Linked DNA regions of Homo sapiens: all the other regions are linked to region 2. Evidence: promoter capture Hi-C in 16 types of primary human blood cells and fetal thymus (Javierre and others, 2016). All regions are on one chromosome and are shown on one strand. Each heading gives the region's core, a stretch centred on a gene start or on the middle of the fragment in contact. The rest is flanking DNA. Distances are from core to core; before and after follow the strand shown.

What was found. The method cuts DNA at HindIII sites, captures the fragments that hold promoters and counts their contacts. A CHiCAGO score of 5 or more calls a contact.
Region 1: a fragment that was not itself captured here is called in contact with the fragment with the promoter of SCN3A in region 2 in 2 of 17 cell types (total B cells and naive B cells); the score reaches 9.1 in total B cells.
Region 3: a contact is called between a fragment that was not itself captured here and the fragment with the promoter of SCN3A in region 2, in 2 of 17 cell types (naive B cells and total B cells). The highest score is 6.5, in naive B cells.

Annotation. Positions count from the first base shown.
Region 1 is chr2:164,696,051-164,700,492 of GRCh38, reverse strand. It overlaps COBLL1 (cordon-bleu WH2 repeat protein like 1), which reads left to right. Exons shown (of 14, transcript NM_001365672.2): 11 at 994-1,088. Among named protein-coding and RNA genes, the nearest start is that of SNORA70F, 10 kb to the right of the region's middle. The HindIII fragment of the contact is 993 bases long and covers 754-1,746 here.
Region 2 is chr2:165,200,797-165,205,591 of GRCh38, reverse strand. It overlaps SCN3A (sodium voltage-gated channel alpha subunit 3), which reads left to right and starts at 1,542. Exons shown (of 28, transcript NM_006922.4): 1 at 1,542-1,769. The HindIII fragment of the contact is 4,908 bases long and covers 1-2,474 here.
Region 3 is chr2:164,714,941-164,719,806 of GRCh38, reverse strand. The region is part of intron 7 of COBLL1 (cordon-bleu WH2 repeat protein like 1); the gene reads left to right. Among named protein-coding and RNA genes, the nearest start is that of SNORA70F, 30 kb to the right of the region's middle. The HindIII fragment of the contact is 1,343 bases long and covers 1,823-3,165 here.

The DNA.
Region 1 (4,442 bases), core at 1-2,500, 500 kb after region 2:
GGCCGTTAGTTTAATTAATACTAGTCTTCTGAAATATAGATCTGATATTTTAAACATAAATATAGTCAGCCCTTTGGTTTTGACTTTATCCTTTTTACCATTATATAAGAATGTTTATTAATGAAGTACTTATTTGCATGTAATTACATTCAAAGAAAATCAAATGTGACAGTTCTAATATCCCTGTGTCAGATAAACCATGAGAAATAGTTTGTGTGATTCAAAAATGAAAATTTTTCTTTTTGTGGGTGTTTTGCCTGTTAACCTATGTGACCTATATGTAATATTTAATTTTCAATTTTTACCAAGTATTCCTGGTGGATTTTCACTGGTATATGAAAACAATTATGCATATTAGAATATGATGTTAAATCACGAGTATTATCTTTGCAGTCAACTTTATGAAACAGAGAATGTACTTTCTGCTTTATTCTAGAAACAGACAGCTATAGTCTAGTCCACTTAGGTTTGAAATGCAACAACATGGATAAAGATGAAATCAACCAAGCAAAATAAACCATATATGTCAGACGTTTATTATAATTTGCATGAGATTGTCTCCTTATTAAACTATTCTACCACCAAAGGGAAAAAAAGATCAGTGAGGTCAATCTACATTCTTATTTATATAGTTGACCTTGCCAGATGAAAAACTAAAATGTTTCATTTAATTTCCTTTTTCTTTAAAAGGCAAATAAATGATAATAGCAAAATAAAGCCACTATTTTGGAAAAGTGTCTATTTTACCAAGCTTCTTTCTTTTTAATGGGACCACCACATGAAAGCTAATGTTTCATAGCAGCATTTCTTCTCAGTTATATTTTTTCTCTGCTATTAAATTTCCGATGTTTGGCAGAAATAAATGATTATTTTAGTCCATCTGTCTTTGGAAATTATTGCCTGTTTCTCATTGTGTGTGTGTGTGTCTGTGTGTGTGTGTATGTGTGTGTTTCAATAGTATCAACATATAACATACAATGTCGTATCTTCCAGAGAACCACACAGTGTAGTATATGATACAAGCAATGGAAAGAAGGTAGTTGACAGTATAAGAAACTTGAAGTCGTTGGGCCCAAACCAAGAGAATGGTGAGTTATATAAATTAATAGCCAACACTTTCTTACTTTTATTATGTGCCAAGGACAGTTCTTAACACTTTATATGTATTAACTCATTTAATCTCCTGTAACTCACTTAATACCTACCTCATTTATGGATATTATGGGTACTATTATTTTTAGTTCCATTTTACAGATGATTGTGCCACAGAGATATTAAATAACTCACCTGAGGTCTCACAACTACTACGGTAAGTGGTGAACCTAGGATTTAAACTGGGGCAATATTGCTCTAGAGTGTGCCCTTAACTACCATGTGTACTACTTTTGTTGTTAAAACATAGAAATTATCTAATTTAGACTTTGGATCTTAAAAATGTTTCTTCTGTGTATCTATTTGCGATCTGTTTCTCTTTTTTTCCATCTAACTTCCTTGGATGAAACTTTTCTGCCTGATTTTTCAAGGCCCAAATCATCTAATAATATAACCTTATTTACCACTGTTTCCCAGTTCCCATCCTCATATTAGCACAACTTATTTTTTCTCATGATGTCATTTGCTTATTTCTATATCATAAGGCATATATTCATGTTGTCTTTGTCTGAAAGACAATTTTTCATCTATTTTACCCATTCAATTTTTATCCAAATCATATCATTTCATGTTTTTACTTGATTATTAGAAGCTTTGCGGTTCTATATTTATGATTCCTCAACTGAATTAGGCAGTCTTGGATCAGATAAATTACATGTGATACTTTGCACTACTCATGGCACCTAACAGAATCCTGAGATACTCATAAAATATGTACTTAGTATTGAATTTCAGAAAAACAATCCTATGCAAATAGAAAATTCAAAAAATACTCAATGGTGTTTTAAGGGGTTAAGAAGGAAGTGGCTTATGAATTCTCATAGTCCAATCTATTATGTTAATCTAGAAAACTAGGTTAAGATATTTAGAAAACTTAGGATGTAGTATTCATATTTGAATAAGACATAGATAATCGCAATGTCATACTTATATATATAATTATATATATATATAATTGTATGTGTGTGGTATGTGTTCATTAACTTGATTATGTGTGCTACTGATTCATTTTCTCCCACATTCAATACCATTGTGAGATATCATACTGAGAAGGTCTAAAAGCAAATAATTTTTTCATTCTTTTCCACTTGAGTCAGTTTTTCACAGCATGTACTGTGATGGCAATAGCATTCCTATTGAGAAATTATGATTTAAAAGCTGCTTCTTTCTCTTTAAAACAATAGTCAAGTTGTATCATTTTTGTTAAGACTTTTGTTGTCAAGTTAGTGCCAGAGTCACAAGTACATTTACGTAGTACTTTGATTTGCATATGGTTTGTTTTGCTACGACTTTTGTCAACTCTAGTTGTTTTTTAAAGTAAATAATGTCTATTATTCTTAAAGTAGTTTTATTCTGTTTTCCTTTTTACCTACCCTTATCTAAATCACCTTCTTGTAAGTTTGTCAATGTCAGTGTCACTTTTGAGTAGAGGGTCACTATAGTATAAAAGATACCTTCTCCCTCTACTGGCCATTCTTGGAAAATGATCTAGCCATTTATAAACACTTGGTTAACATCATTGTCAGTTGTATATGAGGATGGATTCTGGGTTTCCAGGACTGCCAATCACTGGAAATGATCATGAAATGTTGAGAAGAAATTCAGAGTTAGACAATGGTAAAGTAGGTGTAACCTACCAAAAATATGAAAAAGAGAGACTTATAATTCTAAAACCAATAAATTAGGGTTTTTAAACGGGGATTCAATTTAAAATATATGTTTACATTGACTTTCTTTCTTTTGGAAAATATTTCTGGGAAATACATATACTCAGTGGAAAATTAGAAATAAGAAAGAAAGAAGGAAATACATTTAGACTCATTTCCTGCTGCCAGAGATTGTTTCTTAAATTCTTTCATGCTTATAACTGTTCAAAATAGTGTTTTTCATATGAACATTGAAAAATACTTATGAACCAAGTAAATTGAGAGCAGAGGCAGAAATGTGCCTCTTCTATGGTTCCTAAGAACATGGGTCTTTAATTTTGTAAATCAAAATAGTTAATAATAATTGGTCATTGAGAAAAGAATTCACCTAAGTAGATGGTACGTATTCTGATACTCAGTTGCATTTTATCTGGGAAGAATAAAAATGAGTTCCATTTTAAAATTACATGTTTAATATAGGAATCTTGCAACACAATATAGAATATTAACTGCCACAACCAAATAACTGTGCAATCAGGCAGAGTTTAAAAATGTGAAGATATGTTTTTAAATTGTATACAAATTTACCTAACATGATATTTTTCTGCATGCATATCTTTTTTCTTTTTCTTTTTTTAAGAGAGAAACTATATAATATAGCTTATTACATTTTAGGCAGTGTACTTCATCTCATTCTTATAGGTAATAGTGGGTAATGATAAAACTATAGAGAAATAACTTGACATAATTTCACAGTTTGACCCCCAAGGCTCACATTTAACTTGTGCTGTGCAAACTATTGCCATATGTGAAAAGGCCACTAGGGTTTTGAAGATAAGCACAGTGATGGTGCAGGAAGCATGATTCTTCAGGGCATTTGAATAGAGGAGCAGAGGAATGACTTAATTCGGTACTGGGCACATGGTGCAGACTCCAAACCCTGTTTCCTTCCACATGCCTCCTGCCAGTGCTTTGCCATCATGTTGTTGACTGGAAGCTGTTGCTCTGTTAACCTAGACACTGGCAAATGAGTTTTGTTTTCAGGAGGTCTGAATTAGAATCAAGAGGAAAAGTAGTGCAAGGGAGAGGAAGGTTATTTTCTCTACTTTGATTTTGACTCTGACTGTAGAATAAGGATGCCTATTTCCAACAGAGAAAAATCAAAACCATTATGACTGATTTCATGTCATTGAAATCACCCATGTTATAACTAAAAATAAAGTCCTCTAACAGCCTTCAGCAAAGATACCTAGTTAACAAGACAATCAACTGAGATTCTGTTTTTACTATAAATCTTAATGTTTTCTGTTAAGGCCTTCATTAAAACTGCATTTGCTGGGATTCTTTTCCTTTTAATGTTAGGTATGAAAATATAAATATGCTAGGGGCTATAGAAAAGACAGTCAAAATAGAGGAAAAATACAGTTTTTGAATTTGTCAATTTCTATTTTTTGTCATGAACAATGACTGAATGACATCTTCTAAGAAGTAAAAACTTTATTTACCTTCTATGGAGTGTTTATTCTGGTCAATATACTAATGAGCATGCTATCTAAATGATACACATATAATATAAATATTTTCACCTTTTTATGTCTGAGCAAACTGAGGCTCAAAGGGGTTAATTAACATGTTGTGGCCACA
Region 2 (4,795 bases), core at 293-2,792:
AGATGGCTGTGTGAGGCGCCTGGGGCAGGGAGGAAGGCTTAAGTCAGCCAATTACAGCCAAGAGTGACCCTGGGAACATGCTGCTTTTTCTTCTCTCCTCCTAAAGGACAGGAACAAAAGTTTCCTTAGAGGAAGAAGTGACAAAGAGGGGATGCTGCCATGCAAAGCTGGAGGGATGCTATTCCCGGGGCCCAGTGGGCCTGTGGGTACGTTAGTAGATATGAGGGATAATGATGGTCATGGATCATGCAGGACTCCTGGCCTCAGTGGATGCCCATGTGGAGAAAGGGGGAACGGGATCATACTCTGCTTTCTCTATATATGTACACAATCCTGAACTTAGATCAGTCTCCATGAGAAGGAGAGATAGAAGAGGAAAATCATGTATTGGTTGAATGCAAACCCAAAATCATTGGGAAAAGCCTCAAGTAATTTAGTTTACCTGGAACTGACTAGATTTATTTTTCTGCCATTAGACAAAATGGGGGCCACAATTGAAAACGAAGTATGTAATTAACAGTTCTTGAACACATGGCTGGGAAATATGGTATCAGCTATATTTGTTTTTCTTCTTTGTATGAGCTCCTTTATGGCAGGCACTGTGTGTTTCTCTCTGTGTCTTTTCAAGTCTAATATAATACTTGACATCATTTTTGTCCATCCATACAGTTGGTTTGTCAATATGAATGTATTTATTTAATTGATGATAAACTGTAATAAAATCATAGTTGTTTGCTCTAAAGTAGATATGAAAGGTCAGATGAAACAATAACATACATCTGGATTGAGAAATATCTTAATAACTGATGGATTATTTTTATTTTCTTTATGTATTGTGTGCTTCAATATCCTAATAAATAATATTAGCTAGGTTCACTGATGTATAGAATCTTTTTCTACATTTAGATATTTCTTGCAAATGTTTTACCAGAAAGCAACACAAAAATACTATCAGTGAGTATGTGTTTACACTGTTCTCTAAGGAGTCAAATTCCTCACCTTGAAAATAATTCATCCCAGGAAGAGAAAAGGTTTTCAAAAGACTAGAGCAGGCCACAAGGGAGCTTTCGCAAAACTCTACACGTAAAGGGTAATGTAAACTTAAAACCTATTTTTCAAACAGTAATTTATATATCTTTTAATTTTAGTAGTTTATGTGTGAAACAATCATGCAAAACAACAAAGTGATAAAATTTTTTAAAAAAATTAGTGAGATGCAAATAACTGAATATGTAAAAGGTCTCATACATATTTATATGTAGTAGATAAGTTACATTTTTTTAGTGTGTTGGGAAATTTTAGCTCACATCACCTCTCTACTGTCATCTTGGGGCACTTTCATGACTACCCATGCTTCATGCAGGTTTACTTTCCTCCCTGTGACAGAGGATAATGGGAATGTTTTTTCTTTGGCTCAATTTTGTGTGTGTCCGCCAGTAGATGGCGGTACCACTTTGAGTGCGATCGGCCTTTTTTTCTTTCTTTTTTTTTTTCCTCAAAGCTGTTTTCTGATATATGTTGGGTACCATAGAGTGAATCTCAGAACAGGAAGCGGAGGCATAAGCAGAGAGGATTCTGGAAAGGTCTCTTTGTTTTCTTATCCACAGAGAAAGAAAGAAAAAAAATTGTAACTAATTTGTAAACCTCTGTGGTCAAAAAAAAAAAAAAAAAAAAAAGCTGAACAGCTGCAGAGGAAGACACGTTATACCCTAACCATCTTGGATGCTGGGCTTTGTTATGCTGTAATTCATAAGGCTCTGTTTTATCAGGTAAGCTGACAAAACATTTCATTATCTGCACCATAGAACCTAGCTACCAGGTCATTTTCCTTACTTTAAAATCATCTTCATGCTGCTATTTTTAACCCAGTGTTGTTTAAATGTAAATTACAGGAACCAAAGGCATCGTTTGATGTGTAAACTGCTTACTATTTCTTTATCTTTCAAAGAAAATAGAGCCTGTCTGGAAATGGTGATTTATGGTACATACTAGGCATCAATGGTCTTGTGTTTTTGTAGATGCTTATGATTAATTGTATTCAGAAAAAATATTTTTTATTATACTTAAAGCTAGTCTAATGAGTTTCCTGGCTGTATGTCATCTATTTAAATGCCCAGTGTGTCCAGTATTTTTTAAACATAAATGTATAGTGAAATTGGAACTATCATTCTTGTGCTTTAGTTTTTTATTTAACAGCTTTAGAGAGGCCATGCATATAGGGAGTGATAACAATATAGAGGTGTTTGGCTTTGTGAAATACACTATCATTTTTCTCTAAAATCTGTTTTCATAGAGAAAAGAACACCAATACTAACCATTTAAAAGAGGTTGAACCTTCAAAAAATAAAATAATCTCTATATGTTCCATAATATGCTACTTCTTTATCCTTTAATATATTCATTTTATATTAAATGTTTACCTTTTAATTTATTGATTTAAAGATTATTATATATTCTTAATTGTTCTATAAGCTTGATAGATTGCTGTTTTTCTGTATATATTTAATAACTGTTTATTTTTATTAATTACCAGGAAGAACCACTGGAGCCATAAAACAATAATTTACTTTATCTATGATCCATATTGTCTGTAGTTGTATTTAGAATATTCTATATCATAACCATAAATGTTTCATTCAGTTAGCCACCACATAATTAGAATAAGAAATTATTGACAGAAAATCTATACATATTAATTGAAAGATAAGTTTTAAAAATCATACAGGGTTTTAAAATACACAACAGGTAGTATAATGTGGCTTATGAGGACAAAGATAAAGGCATAAGTGCTTGTAGGAATTTGCATGGAAACATTTCATCACATTCACTCCAAATAGAGTGTGCCCTATATGAAATGAAGACTTCTGATTTCAACAGGGCTTCCAGTCAGTACTGGCTAAAAGGGCTTCAAAAATAGAACTTAAGGCCTCCAAACTGTAATTCCTAATGATATGTTGAAAAATATTGACATCTCACTTAATATTTTACATTGAGTAGCAATAATAGTCCCCCCAAAAACATTTCAAAATAGTGGTTGCCTGAGAGGAGAGCCCTGGGTCTTGTCTATTTCAGAAGAATTCCTACCATAGGAGATAAAGAAAACTATTTCTTTGGACAGGGTTCCCAGAAATGGCTGTTAATTAACTTGAGTGTATTGTACACACCATGCTTCTCTACAGGTGACTAAATGTGAGTAACTTTGTTCTGAGTAAGCATCAGAGCTGGTCTTGATTGAACTGGTTTACATTTATGAATGAATGCTTAATTTTGGCCCCAAATGTTAGCTTTTATTTTTCTTGGTATAGTTGCAACAGTCTCTTAGTTATTCATCTATACATGTGGTCGCCATGTGAAAAAGCAAATACACTCAGAGTTCTTCACTTCACAAAATGCGCTCTTTCAAAAATTTCGGAAATTAAACCTGCTTTGATTAAATGATATATCAAACACATTTGAATAACTTACTCTTTAAAAGAATGTAGTGGTGATTTCATTTGTAAAGTTGAGAAAAATGCTGTGATTTATTTGAGTACTGAAGATAAAAAGGTTGAACCCTGAGCTGAAAGTCTTGGGATCTGGTTCATGTTCTGCTACTAGTGAGTTTTGTTGTCTCAGAAAAGACCCCAAGTATCACTGAAGAGCATTTTCCTTGCCTACAAAGGAAGGAAATTAGAATCAAAGCTGTATAAGAATACTTTGTTTTTAAAATTTTCTGATCCTCATTTATTTGGATTTTTCTTCAGTTGGTTTCTCAGCTTAATTAAGATACAACTTTGACTCTCACTGAGTTGTAAATTATGATTGATGTGCTAAACATGAAAGTGGTAAAATAGAGAAATAGGGGCGTTTCTTGGCCAGTTCCTTCTGTAGTGGAAACAAGCAGGAAACAACATGGAGAAGTGGTTAAGAGCAAGAGCTTGGCAGGTTACATTTTATGGCCACTATTACCTGACAAGTTATTTAAACTCTCTGAGCCTTTATTACATCATCTTTAAAATAGGAATAATAATGCCTGTGTTACAGGATTGTGTAACTAAAATAATGTCTGTTCAGTGCTTGGTATAGATCCTGGAACATGATTACGAACCTCCTTCCTCTCTCTCCCTGCCATCCTAACTCACATCAAAAGGAACAGGACAAACATAAAGGCATAAATTTTCATCATTGTTATTATTGTTATCGTTAGTGCTGGTGATATAATATCTTCCACCACAACAGGAAGGATAGAATAAAACTGCCAAATAATTATGTACCTGAAAAGTGAATAATTCTCATCCTGGAAGGATGCCCTTGCTGAAACAACAACAATTGTGTACCTATAATAGTATCACTTAGTGTTAACATTCCAGGCAATTCCTGGAGAGTTTATAGAACTCATAATGCCTTCCAGAAGACAGTTATTTATGCCCAATATGTTATCACGGACTTCAAAACTTTCTTCTTCTTATGAAAATAGAGGCAAAGGGCCTTATTTCACGTTGCCTTAAGAGGATATACCTGTTAGACGAAGTTTCTGTAAAGATTCACAAAGGGAATCTAGGTTTCACCAAAACCACATTTAAACGCCAAGTAATTTCTACTAAGACCACCAGATAACTGAACCTAAATCTCAGGAAAGTCTTTGCTATGTGATCAACTCACAAACTCTCTAATGCTTCAATTCTATTAACGGTACAATAAGATGTGGAAAGGCAAATTGTGCTTGATGAATGGTTGATGGACTGCAAAATCCCTGCTTTCCTCCAAAGGTTGTTTCTAAGTGTAGCTTCGTGCTCCTGACAGCTGTGTGCTACTG
Region 3 (4,866 bases), core at 1,245-3,744, 490 kb after region 2:
CTGTAGTGGTTTGAATATGTTCCTTGCAAAAGGTATGTCTGAGCTCTAACCCTTCCAAAACCTGTGATTCTGACCTTATTTAGAAATAGAATTTTTGCAGATGTACTTAAGGATCTAGAAATGAACTCATATTGGATTTGAGGTGGGCTCAAATCCAGTGGCAGGTATCCTTATAAGAAGAGGAGACACACAGGCAGAGAGACACAGAGAAGGTCGTGTGAAGACAGGCAGAAATTGGCATTATGCTGCCACAGCGAACCATTACCAGGAGTCAGTGGAAGCTGGAAGAGGCAAGGGAGGGTTCTCCCTAATGCCTTCAAAGGGAGCATGACTCCGCCAACACCTTGATTTCAGATTTCTGTATTTCAGAACTGTGGAAGAATACATTTGTGTTGTTTTTAGCCACCCAGTCACAGTAATTTGTTAGGGCAGCCCTAGGAAACTGTACATCAACTTCGTAATTCCAGTCTCGGTATTCTTCCAGTTGCAATTTGAATTCACAGTTGCTATTGACTCATGACTACCTGGAAGACGTATTTAAGATCCGAATCATTGTTTTTCACCAGACTGAAAAGCTCAAGTTCATCTTTGTTTTTTTTTCTTTTTACATCTAATTAGAGACAAATCCTTCATTCAGTCTCCCTTCATGATGTCTTTTATTCCCTCTGCTGACATCTTTTGTAGAGAAATCCAGGACAGAGTATAAAGAGAAAACCAGTACTTAATGTGTCTTTGAAATTCTCAACGTGGCAAGCTGCTGCATTTGTATTTCTTAATTATCACTTCTCAGTTCAGAAATTTTGCATAGCTTGTTGTCATTTTTCTGGGCATCCAAGATCCTCTACAGAATGATTACAATTTTACTTTTAAACTTTTTAATGCCTCCTCATTGATAGGATAGGATACTTCTATCTCTAACCAGAAGATTTGACTTATTGTTGCTGATGCAAAAATCCTGTGTTCTGTATCTTTTCAGAATGGAATGGCCCCACTTCCATCTTCTTCATTTCTACTTACCCATCCAAAGGATGTCCATTCTTTTATCAGATTCATGGAGAGTTTTCTGAAGATGCCAGCGCAGAATAATCTTTACCTTCTCTGAATTTGTTCCTCTTGTCCCTTTTTATTTTCTCTTAATTTGCATTATGTATAGGTTTTATATGTTATTCTAAAGATAAAAAGAGGAATACAGTAAAAATTCTCCTTCCCTATCCCCCACCAAGTTCTCCTGCCCAGAGGCAACCACTGTTAACAGTTTCTTGTGTGTCTTTCCAGAGATAATGTATGCATATTAAAACCAATATTCATGCTAAATATTTTTTTTCCTCAGGTGGCCATATACTACATGCATGTTATACTTTACTTCTTGGTATGGAATTATTTATTCTGGATATTCTTAGCAGTTCATAAAGGGCTTCCCTTTTCGAAGGATTGAATAATATTAAATTGATGGGTATAACATGACTTACTTACCTCATCCTCTAAAGATAAACTTTAGGGTTGTATTATGGCTTAATGCTTGCAGCATTGTTAAATTTTACCTTTTTCTTTTCCCCACCCAGAAGGCAGGAATTGTGTTCTCCAGCAAAATTCTGTAACATGGTAGGTGTTCAAGAGAATTGATAAGTAAACATTAATCACTGCTTTCATAGCCAGGTATAGTATATACAATGAGAATGTGTCACACTTATATCGTAAAATTTTAGTATGTCATTCATATATCTGGTAAATTTTCAGAAGTACGTGGTTAACTTAAAGATTGCTTACATTTACTTTTATGGTAATTGGACCATGTAATTTTTAGCAATATATTTCTTAAGCTTTTATAGAAAAGCCAGAATTTAGATAAGGTTATATTGAAAACTTAAGGTCCAACTAAACTATACTGTACATTGCATAATGCATATAAATATAATTGATCCTTGAATTAAAATTGTTTATAGCCCAGGCTTGATGGCTCATGCCTATAATCCCAGCACTTTGGGAGGCCGAGGTAGGAGGATCACTTAAAAGCCGGGAGTTCAAGACCAACCTGGGCCACAAAGTAAGACCCCTGCCTCTACAAAAAATAATAAAATAAAATAAATCAGCCAGGCATGTTGGTGTGTGCCTGCAGTCCCAGCTACTCAGGAGGCTGAGGTGGGAGGATCACTTGAGCACAGGAATTCAAAGCTGCAATGAGCTGTGATCTCACCACTGCACTCCGGCCTGGGTGACAGGGTGAGACTGTGTCTTTAAAAAATAATAATGAATTTTAAAATAGTAAAAATGTGGTTTATATAGCCAGATGCAAATATTCAGGAAATTCAGCAAAACATATGAACGTACAAGTGAATCATACTTATTTCACTGCTTGCTTGTTTTAAATTTAAAATCAAAGATGGTCATTATCACTATAAACGTTTGTATCTATTTTAACAATTTAGTTTTCAATTTGAAAATGTAAAATATCACTATTTTTAGTGATTGAAAATGATAGCATGTTGAGGAAAACATAACTTGGAAGAAAAATATGTATGACCAAATTGGTTCTAAGTATGTGAATTTTAGACACTTTTATTTAATTTTTATTGTTCAGGATACAAAATAAACCACAAGGGTGCGCTGTTTGACAGAAGTACAGTATTCTAATTTTTCCATTTTTTTTCTCCAAAGCACATTTTAATAAAGCAGAAAGAAAATATTGGAAATAGTTACATTGCATGAGAAGTAGAAAATGCTTATTCATGCGGGTAAATAAAGCTAGAGAGATAAATGTCAGTAACACATGACAAAGGGATTTATAATTAGCAATTTTATTCATTTTGAGTTTTTAATGCATTTTCTTGTTCTTTTAAGAGCCACAGAAACTATGTTTGCCTTAGTCAAGGTTTACTGATGTCAGTAAATCTGTAGCTTAGGAAAAATTTTGTCAACCACATTTATTTTATATTTTTTGGCTGTCTATATTTAATAATTTGCCTCATTCTTCTAAGATATTTCTCAATATTAGCAAATTAAAGTATATGGATGGTGTTTTTTTAGAGCTTATACTGAAAATGCTCACATAAAAGGCTGTTGATTTGCTGAGCTAATTTTGACAAACTAACTGTGCAGTTTCCAAAGACTATTCAAAGTTAGCCGAGATAGCAAAGATCCAAGTTAGCAAATGATTTAACCCAAGCTTTCTTAGAATATTTCTGCATCTAAAATTATTTTTTCCATCTAAAGAATACATTTTGAAGAACACATATTTTACTATTATTGCTGCAGTATCCTTTCAAATCCCTAAATTTCTATGTACCCTCTTTCACATTATTTCAAGTCTCATGTCATTTTTCCTATGAAGGTGAATATATCATCTTCTATGAAAATGTTCATTTGAAAAGAAAACTTTCCCATTAGAAATTTTCTGGCAGTATTTCTTGGTAGTTTTTGAGCATTTTTTAAATATGATTTTTCCTGATGATTTGAAATGCCATTTGTGCAACAAGACATATAATAGATCATGCTTTATTTATATGAACCATATAACATATATTCTTATATAAAATGTACACAGTTATTTACGATAAGATTGTCATTTGTGAAATGGGAAGTCAGAAATTCGATTACATTGACTTAAATTGAAAGTGACTTAGAATTCTCAGATAAATCTAAGTTCAGAAATCTAGTTTCTGCACCGTATCTGCTGACCAAGAGTTTATGAAGAGCACATTTAATAAAATCAATGGCCAAAGGATGTTCTGGTCTTATTGACAAATTAGCCTCATAAGCTGATTTTACATTTGAATAAGTGGAAGAAGAGTCAGGGAAAAGTATTTGGTAATCTTGACCCATAGAATTCACAGAACCTTTTGGAGAATTTTTCATTTGGCACATTTGGTGTGACTGCTGCTTGGAATGATGGATATACAACAGCAATCAATTTTTCTCCTGGCTACGGGGATGGCACATCATTTTCTCTGGGATATTACATTGTGGCTGGAAACACTGTAAGAAATGATCTTCACTGGGCATTTTATTTTATCTCATTTTGCATCCTGCTTCAGACAAACACTCAACTATTGAGAAACGGAAACTCTTTGCCATCTAGTATTATGCAAGTGAAATTTAATACCTAGAGTGTTAGTTTTAAAATAACTGACTTAATTTTTTAAATGTTTTACATTATTCATCTTTTATGCAATTTTATATTCTAATATATATCATGGTTTATAAGCAGATAAGATGATGTATTGTCATATACTTATGAAATGTACAGGTACATATTTTGCTATTTTACTTAATTTTAATCCTAGTTATTTTACATAGAGTATGTAAGGTTGTACCCTCTGTTGTAATAGAGTATGTATTTGCAATGTTTAAGAAACATCCCCCTTTTTAGATTTTTACACAGGTTGTTATATTTTATTTTCCCCTCCATTTTCCTCTTATATTTATTATATAGAAAGTGGACCACCATGCATAATTCTACAATTGCCTAGGAACAGTGGTTACCATGGCATTTGCAGTTTGCTGTACAGAATACAGCTGTCTATACTTCCAAAAATATGACTGGTTTCATTCAGTAGAGAAATGTACCAACACAGTATAATATTTAATCTGCTCCCCTTTTTAAGGCTTTCCTAGATATAATACATACTTTGCCACTGTAGTTTTCATCAGATTTTCAAAGGGTCATAATCACAATAACAAAAGCAATGGTGAATGCTTATATAATGCTTACTAATGTTTCAGACAAGGCTCTAAGAACATTACTTATTTAATCCTTATGACAACCCTCTGGGCCATTACATTTTAGGTTTCTGACAGTTTTAGCCTAAAAGAACTATGAATTATGAGGAATTAATAAGTTGTTAAACTTTAAGGAAAAATATATTATTC